2 separate regions of the Homo sapiens genome follow, and region 1 is linked to region 2. Evidence: promoter capture Hi-C in 16 types of primary human blood cells and fetal thymus (Javierre and others, 2016). All regions are on one chromosome and are shown on one strand. The core of a region is centred on a gene start or on the middle of the fragment in contact, and the rest is flanking DNA. Distances in the headings are between cores, read along the strand shown. Region 1 overlaps DMRT1 (doublesex and mab-3 related transcription factor 1). Region 2 holds the start of DMRT2 (doublesex and mab-3 related transcription factor 2).

The links. The method cuts DNA at HindIII sites, captures the fragments that hold promoters and counts their contacts. A CHiCAGO score of 5 or more calls a contact.
Region 1: a contact is called between a fragment that was not itself captured here and the fragment with the promoter of DMRT2 in region 2, in 1 of 17 cell types (monocytes). The highest score is 6.1, in monocytes.

What each region holds. Positions count from the first base shown.
Region 1 is chr9:886,261-889,332 of GRCh38, reverse strand. The region is part of intron 2 of DMRT1 (doublesex and mab-3 related transcription factor 1); the gene reads right to left. Among named protein-coding and RNA genes, the nearest start is that of DMRT1, 46 kb to the right of the region's middle. The HindIII fragment of the contact is 605 bases long and covers 1,424-2,028 here.
Region 2 is chr9:1,049,107-1,051,606 of GRCh38, reverse strand. DMRT2 (doublesex and mab-3 related transcription factor 2) reads right to left here and starts at 1,250. Exons shown (of 4, transcript NM_181872.6): 1 at 832-1,250; 2 at 1-37. RefSeq lists an enhancer at 609-1,478. The HindIII fragment of the contact is 13,820 bases long and covers 1-2,500 here.

The DNA.
Region 1 (3,072 bases), core at 477-2,976, 160 kb after region 2:
TGTTTAACCACTTTAAAAAAGTTAGATTTGACAAAGTACTATGTGTATAAACCACCGAATTCTATATGTTAAAATTCCCAATTAAAATTCTCAGTCAGTGTTAAAAACAGCTTCATAACTCCTGGCATTTATATGAACACTGCTAGTACATGGAAAGGTTGAAATTAATATCTGTCAAGCTACATGTGTCTAATCCAATGGTTCGCACAGTGTGGTCCCTGAATCAGTAGCATCAGCATTACCTGGGAACGTAAAGAAATGCAAATTCTTGGGCCCCACCACAGACTGACAAAATCATACACCCCGAGAATGGCGCCCAGCAATCTGAATTTTACTAAGCTCTCCAGAAATTCTTTTTTTTTTTTTTTAATACAGATGGGGTCTCACCATGTTGCCTAGGCTGGTCTCAAACTCCTGGGCTCAAGATATCCTCCTGCCTTACCCTCCCAAAGTGCTGGGATTATAGGTGTGAGCCACTGCATCCAGCCCAGGAGATTCTGATGTGCTAAAACTGTTGAGACACACGGCTGTACTCTCAAAATTCAAAGCAACTGCTCCACACGCTATTCCTAAAAATATGAGATACCTTCATGCCCCTGACTGCATCGCTGTGACAGTCCTGACTATTAACAACTGCTCCACACGCTATTCCTAAAAATATGAGATACCTTCATGCCCCTGACTGCATCGCTGTGACAGTCCTGACTATTAAATAAAAGTATACAACAAATGAGGTCAGGCACAGTGGCTCCTGGCTATAATCCCAGCACTTTGGGAGGCCGAGGTACAAGGTTCACTTGAGCCCAGGAGTTCGAGACCAACCTGGGCAAACAAAACCCCTCTACAAAACATATAAAAATTGGCTGGGCATGGTGGTGCATGCCTGTAGTCCCAGCCACTAAGGGAGGCTGAGGAAGGAGAATCACTTTAGCCTGGGAGGCAGAGGGTGCAGTGAGCCGAGATCGCACCACTGCACTCCAGCCTGGGCAAAGGGGCAAGACTCTGTCTCAAAAGGAAAAAAAAAAAAAAAGAATTCCATTGTATTGAAAAGCTAGGCTTCTACCTAAATCACTCAGAGCTTAGATCCCAAGCTGTATGTACTGTGTGTGTATCGCTGCCAAATGGTTGTGAGTTTCATGGCTTACATCCAGACTTTCTTCATTTATTCTAACCACAGTAACTTAATTCATCTATTCAAATGCTTATTCCAGTTGACAAATATTTATTAAGCACCTACTATTTGTCAGGCATTCAGTTAGATACAAAACATTGCAGAGTCAAAATTTAATATTCTTCAGAAGACTTCTGGGTAATCCAGAGGAGCAGGTGTTACAAAAATCATTTATTCTTGACCTTAAGTTGTATTTTTATATTTAGATTTGATTCATTCACTAGTTATCATATAACAACTATGTTCAAAGCTTTCTTTAAATGTTGTCAAAGGCACAAAAACATACTTTAAACATTACATTTTTTCTTAAGAATTTGCCATCTATTTGGGGAAATTAGGTGCAAACTGGGAAATCTACAAAGCAATAATCCAAGTGCCGCAGTGACAGTATAGATAATGTCACCAAATGGTTCTATATAGAGAGGTGTCAGAAAAGGCCACGGTGAGTGATGAGCCAGAGTGGAGGTGATTTAGAGACAGTGGGTAAACACTCAAAAAAAGGAGAATAATACCAATAGAGTCATGAGGGAGGTCAACAGAGGCCCAAAGGAGAGAAAGGACAAGACGCGCTCCAGCCACAGTGACCAGATGAGCCTGGCTGGACTGCAGAGTTCACAAGTGACAACTGCAAATGAGAATGGAAGGTTATGCTGGAGTTAATTGCTGAAGACCCTGAATGTGAATGCCAGGCCAACAAGTTCTCCTCTAGGGAACCAATGAAGGTTTTCAGAGCAAGGGAGTAGCAGAAATATATTTGGGAATCTGGTCAAAGCACAAAAAACAGACCTAAGAGAATAAGGAGATGGGGGAATAGACTAGGTGCTTTAAATACTCCAGGCAAGAAGTCACTTTAAGCTTGCACAAGGAGGCCGTAGTAAAGGAAGGAACTTCATGAAAATCACTGGCAGATCTCCTTTTCTATGAATTCCCTCCAAACAACTAAGTTACATTGTTTGTTTGTTTGAGAGACAGTCTCACATTGTTTCCCAGGCTGGAGTGCAGTGGCGTGATCTCCTGATCTCGGCTCACTGCAACCTCCGCCTCCCAGGTTCAAGTGATTCTCCTGCCTCAGCCTCTGGAGTAGCTGAGATTATAGGCTCCCGCCACCACGCCCAGCTAATAAATTACATTGTTAATATCTGTCATCCAGAGACCAGGAAAGCAATCCAGATTCCCTTTTGATGCTTGTTCAACTGCTGAGTGATCATAGAATAAGCAGCTTCAGAAGGAATATCCGATTCCTTGCCCAGACTGACAGAGGATAAGCATAAGCAGAGTATACCTACCATCTGTCCAGCCCATGCTACAGCAAACTCCCCAGAGAGAAGCCAGCAATATTTGCTTCAACACTGGGGTGTCAGCAAAGATGGCAGGCCAGCCTAAGTGTCCCTATTAATTGATGATAAACCTAAAAGTAATATTTCCAACTGATACGCCACAAAACACACAAATTTATCATACAAAATTTAAAATATGTATATATTTATATATACATAAAGTTTTCAAAAAGTGGTTTTCCACATACAATTAATAAGCTCCCCCAACCATATCCATTCCCACTCTGAGCCACAGGAAAAAAAAAAGTCACAGTAAGAAGTGACAGTTTGGCCGTACACGGTGGCTCACGCGTGTAATCCCAACACTTTGGGAGGCTGCGGCGGGTGGATCACTTGAGGTCAGGAGTTTGGGACCAACCTGGCCAACATGGCAAAACCCCATCTCAAAAAACAGAAAAACTAGCCGGGCGTGTATCTGGCCCGTGCCTGTAGTCCCAGCTACTCAGAAGGCTGAGGCAGGAGAATCGCTTGAACCCAGGAGGCGGAGGTTGCAGTGAGCCGAGATCGCACCATTGCACTGCAGCCTGGGTGACAGAGCGAGACTCCGCTCAAAAATAAAAAACA
Region 2 (2,500 bases), core at 1-2,500:
GGGGCTTCGCTGGGGCCTGAGCCTGGCGGCCCTCACTCTGGGGAAACACAAAGAAATCCAAAGACCCACCGGCCGCCGTCAGGGACCATCCCTGAGCCTCCGGCCCAAAGCTCCTGGTCTGCCCGCCTCCGGCCGCTTGAGTCATCCTGTTCTCATTACATGTCCCTCACTTCCAGGCCACACGTGCCTTTCCTGTATCTCCAGGGCCCCCAGGGATCCACAACCCAACAAAGGTTTTATTTTATTAATTCTAAGTGCTCTGTGAGTACCTGACCTTTAACCGTGGCCCTCTCTGGCTTTACACGGGCTTTCCGGACAAGTCCCTGGGTAACTCACTTATCACACACACACAAAATATTGTGTCCAAATAGGCAGCCCCAGGCCACTTGTCGGATTTCCCCATACTCAACTAGTATGGCCATGATGCATATAAAACTATCCGTGGAAGAACAGTTTTCCTTTGATTACAAGTGGCCCTTCAGACTCACTGAAGTACCACTCTATGCTTCCCAAATGCCTCTCATCAGCCTACACCACCACAAGGACCCCTCCTTGGGCTTGAAGAGGTCCTCTCACCCCCCTCCCCAAAATACTCAACTGAAAACCAAAATTTTGTTGTCATTAGCGTCCCATAAGGGCAAAGAGCACAATACAGACGCCCGTCCAGCCTTAATAGTACCTGAGGTGCACAGGGCTGAGCCGCGTGGGCTCTCTGTACTTAGGCCTTGGTTTATATATTTAAGGTAAGGCATCCAAGTCACACAGAAAAGGTGAAAGATGATTCACGCCCTTTGCCCTCCCTGACACCCCGAGCGGCATCACAGCACTCACCAAAACTTTGAGGCCCGGGCTGGTAGCCCAGTTAAAAGATATCCAGCTTTAGGATCTGGCGCTAGGGCTGCTGGCTGTGCATGCAAACAGAAATCGGGGTCGCTACCCTCAAACACGAGATCGGGAGCTGATAGCTGGAGGCCCGGAACGAACCCACTGGATGGTGGAGGGGGAGGGAGAAGGTAGGTGGAGGGAAGGAGGGAGGAAGCCAGTCAAGTCCTCAGCGACCTAGCCCAGCACATCCCGAACTCTGCAAAGTTCTGCTCGGTCTTCTGCAGCCTCGGGCGCCTCACCTTGCTGAGGCCGCTTTCGGCTTCCTCTGACCCAGGCTGGGCGGGAAAGGTCGGGCCGCCCCCGCCTGGCTCAGATCGCTGGCTCACCCGGCGGGCGCGCGCAGTTGCATTCAGCGCAGCGCCACTGGCTTCAGTCTGCAGACTGCGCTCCCCTTCCTAGTACTGTCCGCTCAGGCCCCGGAGCTTTACGTCCTCTGATTGGCCGGTTGTCAGGCGGTGTGAATACTGATTGGCCGAGGCACGCTGGCAGGGAGCCCTCCGCCTCCCGCGGTCTACACTCTTCTCTCTGAAGCGCTCCGCCAGAGTCCGCCTACCGGGCCTTCGGTGCAGCCGGCTCGCCTGTCCAGAATCTAAACCCGAGGTATGACGGTGCCTGCAAGAGAGAAGTCACCATTTATCTCGCGGACTGGGAAACAAGCAGAGATACATTCTTAGGAATGCGTTGTCCACAAGAGAAGGTAATAAACGACGAGGAAGAGATCAGAAAGACCAGTATTGGCCTCTATCAGCATCACAAGCATTTCTGCGACTCAATCAATCATTAATCCAAACTGGGCGTAAAAATGATGCCTCTCTTTCGGGGCGTACAGCGACATCCTTCTTTCTCCTGCAAGAGTACATCAATGGTTACCTGGCACCGAAACTCCTAGTTAGCATACAAATAGCCTGTTGATATTTCTGTGTCTAGTGCCACCTATTCTCGAAGTGCCAAATAGCTCCTCATTAACCTTCACCGAGCCCGTGTGGCAGGTGGCCAAGTCGACTACAAGTCACTTACATTTTTCTGTTATATCAGTTGCTATTACAGTTAATGTAGGGAAGATCAGAAATGCATGCTATTAAGAGAATTAGGTAAATCCATTCACACTAAGCATGCATTTAAACAAAGTTATTTTTAAAAAGATGACTACTTTTTAGTGTGCGTAGTTGTATTTATAGACTTTCTAACGACTCCCTCAAAAAATCCTTTACAAAATGTTTAACGATAAAAAATTTTCAACATATTAAAAGAAGGAATTAGTCTTCTAATTCAACGCTGCATTCTATTTCTTGAACTCAATTAAAAATAATATGGGCGCTTTTCTAACTGCATCTGTAAATAATCAAGACCTCTCGAGTAGGATCTGTTTAGGAGACTACAAAATTGGGTATCATTGCACTGAGTACATAGTAGGCCCGCAACAAATATTTGTTGAAGGGTGGGAATTCCTGACGTAATCCCAACGTTACTTTTGTCCGAGTTTGTCAGAATGTTAAAAGTTAACCTGGATCAGAGAAGTGGGAACAAAGGCAGCTTAGGAACTACCGCGACCAGCCAGAAGCACTATTCTCAAACCTTCAGTGATGTTGTAAAGTTCCTCCCCGGTGACCAGGCA